Regions from separate parts of the Homo sapiens genome. Here all the other regions are linked to region 4. Evidence: promoter capture Hi-C in 16 types of primary human blood cells and fetal thymus (Javierre and others, 2016). All regions are on one chromosome and are shown on one strand. The core of a region is centred on a gene start or on the middle of the fragment in contact, and the rest is flanking DNA. Distances in the headings are between cores, read along the strand shown. Region 1 overlaps ZSCAN2 (zinc finger and SCAN domain containing 2). Region 2 holds the start of SEC11A (SEC11 homolog A, signal peptidase complex subunit). Region 3 holds the start of LINC00933 (long intergenic non-protein coding RNA 933). Region 4 holds the start of PDE8A (phosphodiesterase 8A).

The links. Contacts are between HindIII fragments. The CHiCAGO score rates a contact against its expected background, and 5 or more counts as called.
Region 1: a contact is called between a fragment that was not itself captured here and the fragment with the promoter of PDE8A in region 4, in 2 of 17 cell types (fetal thymus and M1 macrophages). The highest score is 5.7, in fetal thymus.
Region 2: the fragment with the promoter of SEC11A here is called in contact with the fragment with the promoter of PDE8A in region 4 in 2 of 17 cell types (monocytes and neutrophils); the score reaches 5.4 in monocytes.
Region 3: a contact is called between a fragment that was not itself captured here and the fragment with the promoter of PDE8A in region 4, in 2 of 17 cell types (fetal thymus and naive CD8 T cells). The highest score is 5.3, in fetal thymus.

What each region holds. Positions count from the first base shown.
Region 1 is chr15:84,619,956-84,622,655 of GRCh38, forward strand. ZSCAN2 (zinc finger and SCAN domain containing 2) reads left to right here. Exons shown (of 3, transcript NM_181877.4): 3 at 647-2,700. The coding sequence ends at 2,085. Among named protein-coding and RNA genes, the nearest start is that of ZSCAN2, 20 kb to the left of the region's middle. The HindIII fragment of the contact is 168 bases long and covers 1,348-1,515 here.
Region 2 is chr15:84,714,821-84,717,548 of GRCh38, forward strand. SEC11A (SEC11 homolog A, signal peptidase complex subunit) reads right to left here and starts at 1,319. Exons shown (of 6, transcript NM_014300.4): 1 at 1,205-1,319. The coding sequence starts at 1,255. RefSeq lists enhancers at 972-1,537, 993-1,062, 1,538-2,103, 1,733-1,852, 1,873-1,982 and 1 more. The HindIII fragment of the contact is 22,021 bases long and covers 1-2,728 here.
Region 3 is chr15:84,570,248-84,573,259 of GRCh38, forward strand. It overlaps LINC00933 (long intergenic non-protein coding RNA 933), which reads left to right and starts at 402. Exons shown (of 4, transcript NR_038274.1): 1 at 402-487; 2 at 1,968-2,097; 3 at 2,775-3,004. It also overlaps the pseudogene UBE2Q2P1. The HindIII fragment of the contact is 4,246 bases long and covers 1-3,012 here.
Region 4 is chr15:84,980,606-84,983,621 of GRCh38, forward strand. PDE8A (phosphodiesterase 8A) reads left to right here and starts at 1,251. Exons shown (of 22, transcript NM_002605.3): 1 at 1,251-1,743. The coding sequence starts at 1,558. RefSeq lists silencers at 313-362, 683-1,172 and an enhancer at 900-1,432. The HindIII fragment of the contact is 13,609 bases long and covers 1-3,016 here.

The sequences.
Region 1 (2,700 bases), core at 182-2,681, 360 kb before region 4:
TTTAGGTTCAGGGGTACATGTGCAGGATGTGCAGGTTTGCTACAAAGGTAAATGCGTGCCATGGTGGTTTACTGCACAGGTCATCCCACCACCTAGGTATTAAGCCCAGCATCCATTAGCTATTCTTCCTGATGCTCTCCCTCCCCCTCCCCCACAGGCCCCAGGGTGTGTTATTTCCCTCCATGTGCTCATGTGTTCTCTTCATTCAGCTCCTGCTTATAAGAGAAAAGATGCAGTGTTTGGTTTTCTGTTCCTATGTTAGTTTGCTGAGGATAATGGCTTCCAATTCCATTCATGTCCCTGCAAAAGATATGATCTCATTCTTTTTTTTGGCTGCATAGTATACCATGGTGTATATGTACTACATTTTCTTCATCCAATCTATCATTGATGGGCATTTGGGTTGATTCTATGTCTTTGCTATTGTGAATAGTGCAGCATTGAACATGTGTGTGCATGTATCTTTATAATAGAATGATTTATATTCCTTTGGGTATATTAAACCTGATTATTAAAGGCTTTGAGGATTTTCTAGCCTCTTTGTGTTCACTGGAAGTTTAATTTTTATAAATTTCCCCCTTCGTTTTCTTTTGTCATCATGACAGGGAGTTGAGTAGACATTGTATGTTTTTCTTCATTGTTTCAGATTTTGAGATACAGAGTGAAAATGGGGAGAACTGTAATCAAGACATGTTTGAGAATGAATCACGTAAGATATTCTCGGAAATGCCTGAAGGTGAAAGTGCTCAGCACTCCGATGGGGAAAGTGACTTTGAGAGAGATGCTGGCATCCAGAGGCTCCAGGGACACAGCCCAGGTGAGGACCACGGGGAGGTGGTTTCTCAGGACAGGGAAGTTGGCCAGCTCATAGGCCTGCAGGGCACCTACCTAGGGGAGAAGCCCTACGAATGTCCCCAGTGTGGGAAGACCTTCAGCCGGAAATCCCACCTCATCACACACGAGAGGACCCACACAGGAGAGAAATACTACAAATGTGATGAATGTGGAAAAAGCTTTAGTGATGGTTCAAATTTTAGTAGACACCAAACCACTCACACCGGGGAGAAGCCCTACAAATGCAGAGACTGTGGGAAGAGCTTTAGCCGGAGTGCCAACCTCATAACCCACCAGAGGATCCACACGGGGGAAAAGCCCTTCCAGTGTGCCGAGTGTGGCAAGAGCTTCAGCAGGAGTCCCAACCTCATTGCACATCAGCGCACCCACACAGGAGAGAAACCCTACTCGTGCCCCGAGTGTGGAAAGAGCTTTGGCAACCGATCCAGCCTTAACACGCATCAGGGGATCCACACTGGAGAAAAGCCCTACGAATGTAAAGAATGCGGCGAAAGCTTTAGTTACAACTCCAATCTAATCAGACACCAGAGAATCCACACAGGAGAGAAACCCTACAAATGTACCGACTGTGGGCAGAGGTTCAGCCAGAGTTCAGCCCTCATCACCCACCGGAGAACCCACACAGGAGAGAAACCCTACCAGTGCAGCGAGTGTGGGAAAAGCTTCAGCCGCAGCTCTAACCTGGCCACACACCGGAGAACCCACATGGTGGAGAAGCCCTATAAGTGTGGGGTGTGTGGGAAGAGCTTCAGCCAGAGCTCCAGTCTGATTGCACACCAGGGCATGCACACAGGGGAGAAACCCTACGAGTGCCTGACATGTGGGGAGAGCTTCAGCTGGAGCTCCAACCTCCTCAAGCACCAGAGGATCCACACGGGAGAGAAACCCTACAAATGCAGCGAGTGTGGGAAATGCTTCAGCCAGCGCTCCCAGCTCGTAGTGCACCAGCGGACCCACACGGGCGAGAAGCCCTACAAATGCCTCATGTGCGGCAAGAGCTTCAGCCGGGGCTCCATTCTGGTCATGCACCAGAGAGCCCATTTGGGAGACAAGCCCTACAGGTGCCCTGAGTGTGGGAAAGGCTTTAGCTGGAACTCAGTCCTCATTATACATCAGCGAATCCACACTGGGGAGAAGCCCTACAAATGCCCCGAGTGTGGCAAAGGCTTCAGCAACAGCTCTAACTTTATCACACATCAGAGAACTCACATGAAAGAGAAACTTTATTGAAGTGGCAAAGAGTGAAAGTGAGGGACTGGCCTGGAGTGGGAGTTGCCACACTGCCCCAACAGTGATTCCCTTTCAAAGAGCTGTGCTTCCTAAACATTCTGGGGGGTTTTGCCAGAGTCTTCCCCTTGCTCATCCTCATTTCCAGGACACTGTCATTTTAGTGGTCTGAGTCAAGTCCCGTATACATTCAAGAACAGGGCATAGGCGTGGAAGGTCTGGAAAGTTGGGTCTTTTTCCCTTACATTGGGTGACTTGATTGGCCCCCTCTCATGATTCCTCTGTGCCTCAGTTTCCTCTTTGGTAAAATGGGGGGAAATGTTTCTCCATGTGGAATGGAAGACAGCATGGCCCACAACGTGGGCCGAGTCCTCAGAGAAATACTGGAAATCATTGGTGTGGTTCTGGTTGTTTTGTTGTTTTGCTGCCACGTTGTTGGGCTAAGGTGCCTTCACCCCAAGCTGTTAGTGTTCCAGGGCACCCCAAGCTGTCAGTTAGAATCTGCTCTTCTGGCTTTGGTGTCTTGGGCTTTGATTTCAGGTCAAGATGGAGGGGCTTCTCCAGTTCTGAGTCACCCACGTGAAGGTAAAGACCCTTTCTATTTCCAGAAAGTGTCAG
Region 2 (2,728 bases), core at 69-2,568, 270 kb before region 4:
GAAGGCCGAGTCTTTCTTAACTATCTTTGCATTTCTCTCATTGTACCTAGCATAGAGTACAATAAATATCAGACTCAAAATAAATACTTTCCTCAGAGAAATATCTGTGGCATCTAGAAATCCAAATATGGATTAAAAAAAGACAACACTATACAAGTAAAAATTTGAAGTGTTGTCATAAAGACATAAAGTAACGTTTGCGCAATTTTTATAGAATGCTCAATTCTGACTGACAGAATTGACACTGAGCTAGCTAAGGCCTGAAGGGGAGTAAGGAAAGGTTGTGTATCTACTTCCCTAAGTGGCAGTTATAAGTACAAAAAATGCAAGTCCAAGGAAAAAAAATCCTTAATGGTGACATCAGGATAATCATAACAGTAAAATACTGTTTAAAACAAAAAAAAAGTCCGATGCAGCAAAACTAGGCTCTACAGACACACTAGGCGCAAAAGATAAAACAGAACAACCTTTTCTAAGGACTAAATAATTACAACAATATTCTCAGTACTATTTGGCATACGATCTAGAAGATCAAAGTAAAGTGTAAGGACAAAATCAGGAGACCTACATTTCCAGATCCCCGTGGCACTGATATTGGACTGTAAAACCATAGATTCCGAGGGCTGCCGCCTTAGTGCTAAGCGGACGCAAGGGCAAGTAGTGTAACTGTTCCAACTCGGAGCCCAGAGTGGTCCAAGTCAAAGTCGGTGCAGCCCGCTACGGTTCAGCTCTACTAAAGGGTTGCAAGGAGCTGAAAGCAGCAAAACGGTTTTTGTGGGGCCTCCAATCGCCTTCCTGAGCGCCCCAGAAACCGGCTAAACCTCGTCTCTCCCGAAACCACCTGGAGTCGCTCCGACTGGAGAAATCAAGAGTCCGCCGCCTTAAAATGACTAAAACAATAAGCAACCCCAACTCCCACTTCAAGCGCGTACGGTTTCCATTTGCTCCCCTGCCTCAGTGGGAGGAATGGAACGTGAAGACACCGCTTCCCGCCCCGCCCCCGGTAGGCCCTGAATCAGTTCGGGGTTAAAAATAATGAGGCGGACAAGGCGGCCTCTGGCCACAGTCTCCAAAGAAAGCGAATGACCCGGGTATCAGACCAGCTCAGACCCTCACACCAGAACCCTGGGGTCCGCCGGGCCCCGCAGCAGCAGCCTCGAAGGGACAAGAAGAGCCAGGAGAAAAAGAGGACGGACAAGCTCACCTGCCGCTTGTTCATCCGCCGCACATCGTCCAAAAAGTCTAGAGACAGCATGGCGGGGACGGCGAGCAGGACACCGGCAGGGGAAAGGGCGCGATGACCAGCGGGCGGAACTACTGGAGCTCGGGTCGGGCTCACACTGGACAGGACCCCGCAGTGCTTGCACTTCCGCTTCCGGGGCGGGAGCTGGCACGGTCGGGCACGGTCCCCGCCCCCCGCGCCCCTTCGCTGCGGAGAGCTGACAGAGAGACTCACGACCTTGCTAGTCCAGTCTCAGGGCTTGGCCTCGCCGTGGGAGGGTTCTCACGCTCTGGCTCTCGCCTGCCAAAAACCGACTGGACGCCACTTCCCGCGCTCGGCCCCGCGGCCCTTCACCGAGGCGGCGACCCAGGCTTAGTTGGGGAGGCTGCTCTGCCACCTTCGGAAGGCGGGCCTCTGTGCCCGCCCGGCCAATCGCGAGCAACCTCTCCGGTGTGGGCGGGTAGAAGCGGTTCCGCGTCCCGGCTTGGGTATGGGTGTGGCAGTGGATGTGTCGTCTGACCGTAGGTTCTCTGGTCGAGCAAGTCTCCTGCGCTATGGGAAGCTGAGGAGGTGCTTTCTTTCTTTCTGTCTCTGTCTCTCTTTCTTTACGTCTCTGTCTCTGTTGAGGTGCTTGCTTGCTTGCTTGCTTACTTTCTGTCTGTCTGTCTCTTTCTCTTTTTCTTTCTCTTTCTCTCTTTCCTTTCTTTCTCACTGTGTCGCCCAGGCTGGAGTGCAGTGGCGCAATCTCAGCTCACTGCAACCTCCGCCTCGCGGGTTCAGGCGATTCTCCTGCCTCAGGCTCCCAAGTAGCTGGGACTACAGGCGCGCGCCACCAAACCTGGCTAATTTTTGTATTTTTAGTAGAGACAGGGTTTCACTATGTTGGCCAGGCTGGTCTCGAACTCTTGAGCTCAGGTGATCCGCCCGCCTTGGCGTCCCAAAGTGCTGGGATTACAGTCGTGAGCCACCGCGCCCGGCCATCGAGGTGCTTTCAATAAGTGCTTTTCGCGTAAGGTTGGACCGTGTGAGAGACCTTCCGAGCACTGCCTGAGCCTGCCAGGAGTTTACAGTCCAATTGGAGAGAAAACAGCCCGGGAGAATTAGAAAACATCCAAATGGTGCAACAGCGTGATGAGACCACCAGTGGTGTGGGTCGTTAGGAAGTGGCTTCCTTTCTGACCTTGACTTTGCTGACAGGATTTGACATGGTCTCCTTGAATTCTACCTCCTGGTTTTCTTAACTTGGACACCTTGAAGTGACTATCTTTTCGCTACCTTTTGCTTTGACTGGCCAAAGCTCCTAATACGCACTTCAGTCAACAAAGACTAAAGCTGGATTACTTGGTATCATTTCTCTCTCTTTTTTTTTTTTTTTTTTTTTTTTCAAAATAATCCTTCTCTCCCATTAGGGAAAGATGAATGAAGGATATACTGGAACTCTTTGTAGTATCCTCGAAATTCTTTAAATGGAAAGTCATTCCAAAATAAAAACTTGAATTTATTGGA
Region 3 (3,012 bases), core at 329-2,828, 410 kb before region 4:
GTCGCGGTCCCGGGGAGCAGGCTGGCTGACTGAGGGCGACCATGGGCCCCGAAAGGGCTGCGGGCGACGCGGGCTCCCACCTCGGGGCGCGGTGACTGGGGCGAGAGGTGCCGGCAGCCCCCAAGCCAGCCCCGCAGCAAGGAGCCAGAGAGACGCGCCCTCCCCCTCCTCCCACCCAAGCCTCCCGCAGTCCCGGCGATCGGGGCCAGGCCAGTCGCGGGAGAAAGGTGCGCGCTCACCCGGCCCGGGGAACCGGGGCCTCTCCTGGGCAGGTTCCCCTTTGTCCCGGGACTCCGGGCTCTTCCTCTCCGCCCTCGCCCTGCCGTGTGAAGCCGCCGCTGGGCGCCTCACCGTGATGTTGCAGTGGAGCCTGAGCTGCCGCGGCGGCTCCTGGTTCTTGTGGAAAATAGAGGACAACAACTTCAGCTTGGCCTTGAACCCTGACACGGACATTTTACTCTCACCTCTGGCGGGAGGGGCGCGGAAGGTGAGCCGGTCGGGAGCCGCTGTCATGGCCGCGACCACCCGCGGGACCTCTCGGCGGCGCTCTCGCGGCTCCGCCTCTCCCCGCTGCCTCAACTCTAGTCGGAGTAGGGCTGGAAAATGGCAAGGGGCACCGAGGCCTCTGCGGGGAGCTGTGTGGCGGCCTGGGCGGCTGCTCCCCTTGTAACAGACTCCACCGACAGGAGGCGCTCCTCCTGTCAAGCCACAGCTTAAAAGGACAACAGCACCACCGCCCCCGCTACCGCCTGGGAAAGGGCTGCCCCTACCCCGCTCCCGTCCCTCTCGTCCCTCACCCCTCACCCCTCACCTCTCACCCCCGCGCGCCCGGTGCGCACCCGTTTCGGCGGGTGCACGAGTCCAGAGCATGTGCGCGCTTCCGGCTGCCCCCTCCTGGCTTTGACCCAGCACTGCTGGACCCATCTAGTCCGTTCCTCACACTCGCGGACTGGAAGCTCCAGGCTGCACAACCACCAACTGGTGTGTGTGTATTTAGGGGCGGGGGGAGGTACAAAACCACCAACTCGTGTGTGTGTGTGTGTGTGTGTGTGTGTGTGTGTGTGTGTGTCTCCCAAGGGAACAGCACTGCTGAGTTCAGGCTATCAGCTCATGGACTGTCAGCAAAATACAGTCACAAGAAGGCTATGTGCTGTTTTGTCTTTTGCAGTGATGTCATGTTGCTCATGTTTTATGTTTTTCAGAGTTCATTAGTTTCTTTTTGTTCTCAGTAATATCCAGCTCAATAGATTGTGTAAGTAGAATACCCCCAAACTGAAAGTCACCTACATAAAATATAGTGAAAAATATGTCACCCACTTAAACTATAGTTGAAAATATGTACTCATTAGTTTTGTGTAGCCAACACTGGATAATGGGTAAGGAAGGGCACAGGATCCCAGGGCTAGACTGCCTGGGTTCAAGTTCCGATTTAGCTGCTTGCTGGCTGTGAAATGCTTGACAGCTTTAAGCCTCAGTTTCTTTTTTTTTTTTTAACTTAATCCCAAATGTGATAGTAAGTCTCAGTTTCTTGATCTGAAAAACAGAAATTATTCAATGAGAGTCCATGTGAAAACTTTAAAGTTTTAAAGCCACTTTCTGGCTCAGGAAAGTCCTCAGCTTTAGCTGTTAAAGTTTTAAAAGCCACTTTAAAGTTTTAAAGCCACTGCCTGGCTCAGGAAAGCCCTCAGCTTTAGCCATTATTAGCTATGATTATTATTGTGCTGGCTACACATGCATTAATGAGGCAGGAAAATGCTCAAGGATAACAACCAAGTATCCAAATTATCTCATCAGACCGAAACAGATGCATATGTTTGCATGCTCATGTTTTAGCTCAGAGCCATTTGTCTAAAAGACTCTTGAACTCAGGGGTCCAGGCAGTATCAACTTTACTTTGCAGTGAAGCCATCACGTTTGTTAATCAATGAAAACGACATAATGCTCTTTTTTTTTTTTTTTTTTTTTAGCACCAACCATGTGCCTAAAGCTAACTGTGTCAAAAAGAGCATGCTTCGAGGGGCTGGAGTGAGCAATTCAACTTGTGGAGAAATAAGAAATAATAGTGTTGAGACAAGAAACATAAAACCGCAGGGTAAGGTAGGAATCACTGAAGGTCAGGCAAAGGAACTGGCATCCAGTAATGAGTCAGGCTTTGACGGCCTCTGGCCCTACAGATGGCTCTTTGGAGAGGAAAAAATTAAGCCAGGCCTGAGGCCACAGATCCTAAGGGACTGCTGGCAGCTCTAGGCTGTCTATGGAAGAGAAGCAGAGGGTGGCACCTGGTTGAAAGAGGGAGCTGGGGGGCATGGCTTGAGCCCGCATTTACAGATAGAGTCCCCTGATTCCTGCAACTGGGGAAGAAGAGCATGCCTGGATCAGGGGACCTCAAATCAGAACTCTTCCCACCCACACCCCTTCTTTTCAGGGCATCTTTCACTGCAAACAACAGATAAACTAGTTAGAAAGCTCAGCAGATTCTCAGGATGGTGCCTAGCGGGCAGGGCCTAGCTACCCTTTGACAGTGACTGAGGGTGATGCCACAGGCCCGTAAGCACACATTGGAAAATCTTTACATCCATGGACACGCCATGCCCCACAGAGACAGCTGTGCAGGGTTCTTTAGGTTTGGGGTGCTCTGCTGGCAGTTGCCTTATAAATATATAGGATTAAAATGGGATGCCCTGGAGCTTAGCTAACCTTTACACCCCACTCTAAAAGGAACGGACTGCTAGTTTTGTCTGCTTTATAAAAGATGGATCTGTCATTGTTTTTAGAACTTTTGGAGAAAGATTTCTTGGGAGGAAGCTATCCTGAACGCTTAGAGACTTTTCTCATTTACTGGCACACCAGCTTTAGAGTCCTAGGTCTTCATCCTGGCTCAGCCACCCTCCAGCTGTGTGAACTTTGAGAAGTTGCTTGACTACACTGAGTCTCGTTGTCACTATGAGTGGAGGTTGCTACGTTGCTACTGTGTGGAGCACCTACCCCCAAGCACTCTTATAAGGTGATGGT
Region 4 (3,016 bases), core at 1-2,500:
CAGCCCGCTACAGGATACGTGATGGACGCCCAGAGACACCGCCCTCCAGCTGGTGGGGGAGGAGCCCCAGCCACCAAGAAGTTAAGTGACTGGCCCAGTTCACACAGCAAGCTAGTGGCTGTGTGCGTGTCCGGGGTCCTCATGGGCCCCAGGCCTGCAATGCGTACGCCCCTTCCCCTGGCTCTGCCTTTGGGGTCTCGGACGCCCGACTAGCACTTTGGTTAAAATGAGAGGAGGACGGGCGCCTGCAGCCTGCCCGGTGCTGTAGCTTTGCGGCCGCCCCGGCGCCTGTGTAATCCGAGGCGTGGCGCGCCAGGTTTTGGCCTGCGAGGGAGCGCACGTGGGCTGCGGCTTCTCGCGGACGCCCAGGCCCCACCCACCCGGGACCCGGCGCGCGGCGCCCCAGTTTGACTTTCACTACCCCCAAAGGAGGTCTTTCCACCGGCCTCTTTTCTGGGTAACAGCTCCAGGGCTCACACTTGGTGACCCCACCGAGGTCAAGTAGCCGCTAAGTTACGGAGCCGGAATTCGAATTTGGCGGTCGGGCTTCTGGTGGCCTCGGGACGGAGGTGGCTGTGTGTCCCTGGGCAAGTCTCTTTCCTTCTCTGGGTAGCCCAGTCGGGCGCCCCGCCTGTCGTCGCCGCGCATGCTCAGTTGCGGGCGGCGTCCGGAGGAGGTGGCGGGCGCCCCAGCTGCTTTGCATTGACGCCAGCACCCGCTGGAGGTCACCGCTGGGGGCTCGGCGCGGCACGCTGCCGGCAAAACCCGGCCCGGATCACGGAGCCGGAGCCGGAGCCGTACCGCCAGCAACTCCTGGGTGCGCGCAGCCGTTTCTGCGCTTCTCGACGGTGCGGCCCCAGGCCCCGCTGGAGCCGAGCTGCTCCCCTCCCTACCCTGGCGGACGTGGCCCGGCCGCTCCGAGGGGTTTCCCTCGGACCCCGCGCCTAAACCCCGGCCAGCGGGAGCGTCTAAGGCTAGCCTTGTACCCCACCGGCACTCGGCCTGGGGGGGCTTTTCCGCGAGGCGGCGGCCCAGCGGGCGGAGCGGCGTGGGTGTCCACATCTAGGCGGAGTCTGGAGCCGGGGAGGCGGCGGCGGCGGCGGCGGGAGCGGGGCCGGGCGCGGCCGGGAGCTCGCCTCCCCCGGGGGTCGTGCCGCAGCTCGGCGAGGGCAGCGTGGCTCGCGCGGCGTGGACTCAGCCGCTCCTGGGTAAGGAGAGCGCAAATCTCCTCCCCCTATTTCCCCGGAAGCGCGGCCGAGGCGAGCCCGGCGATGTGAGAGGCGGCCGTCGGCTCCTGCCTCAGGAAGGGCATGTTCGGAGGGGCGGCCTCGGCACGCCACCCGCCTAAGCGCCCCCTTCCCACCGCAGCCGCCGCCGCCGCAGCGCCCGCACCGCGATAAAAGGGGCGGCCGCGTTTCCTGACGCGAGATCCGCGCTCGCCGCCGCCCGCCCAGGCGGCGATGACACGGCGCCCGCGGCGGCCCGGAGGCGCCGGGTGGGCCGTTTGCTGACCGGATCGCGGCTACCCGCCAGCGTGTCCGCGGCGCCGCCGCCAGCATGGGCTGTGCCCCGAGCATCCACATTTCCGAGCGCCTGGTGGCCGAGGACGCGCCTAGCCCCGCGGCACCGCCGCTGTCGTCCGGCGGGCCGCGCCTCCCGCAGGGCCAGAAGACGGCCGCCTTGCCCCGGACCCGCGGCGCCGGCCTCTTGGAGTCGGAGCTTCGCGACGGCAGCGGCAAGAAGGTAAGGGGCGCCGGGCACTCTGGGGCCGCCGCGAAACTCGGGCCCGGCCAGTAAGCAACTTTCCCGCAGGGGCCGGGCGGGGTCCCCCCCACCCGGCCTCGGTGCCCTCTTGTCCCGCTTTGGATGGTTCTGATTGACGCCAGTCTCCCGCCTTGCCGGGGCAGCGTTCAGAGAAGGACCGACCCAGGTCCCGCGACCCTGATTTCCTAGGGTTGCGATTAGGACGCCGCCTGTGTCGCGGCGTCGGTTTTTTGGACACATCCGACTCCCGGAGCGGCGGGGCCCGATGTGAAGTTGACTGAGGCGCTTGCATCAATTTCCTCTCCAAGAGCGGGTGTTTGAGGGAAACCCCCAGGATATTCTGGCGCGCCCCTGCAATGTTAAATCAGTGTGAACTTTGTTCTTTTCCTGTGGTAGAAAGGGAAGGGCGACTGGCCTCACCACTCTTTTCCCTCTGTCAGCTTTGCACATGCAGTTGCAGGTTACCATTTTCTTCGGGACTGCTAGAATGTAATCTGGAACATCAGCTTTGCTTCATTGCACATGTATTTGAGGTCCACGTTTATTAGCATACATACTGTATTTAAAGCATATGTAATTAGAAAATACTGTGAAACGCGATTTTTGAAGCATTCAGCAGAACAAAGTTAATCTTTTATTAAGCCGACTTACTGGGACATTTTGTGACTGGGGTTTTTTGTTTTTTTACATTGCGTGTCTTCTCCAGCGCATGTTGCCTTGGCTTATGTTTTGTCAAAGTTTCTGGGCTTAGTCTTTGTTGAGGTTTTCTAAAGGAAAGTTAAAAAGGAAAAAGAAAAACGTGATCATTAAGGCACACAGCAGCAGCTTTCCAGTTCTCTCATTTCAGAATTTAAAGCTGGAACTCATGCGTTGGTTTATGTTTTGTTAAACCAGTAAAAGACAACAACAACAAAATTCGTGCATGGCTGCAGATTGTTGGCTGTCATCCCTCTCATCACGACCAGTTTTTGAAAGAGTAATTTGCAAAATTTGTTTGATTTTTCCTTGCTTGCTGAGAACTGCTGAACCTCCGAAGTTTGAGGGATATAGTTTGATGTACTTTCTGTCTTACATTTCTAGCAGTCGTCATGATACTTTTTCTGTACGAAAGGGGAAAGTCTTTTTCAGTGTTGCATAACAGTTGATTTCCCCACCATTCCCATACCCTAAGTGAAAATTCAACTTTGTTCTGATTATCAGAAATTGAATTCCTTCTCCTATAGATTCTTTAAAGAAACCTCTGATGGTTTAG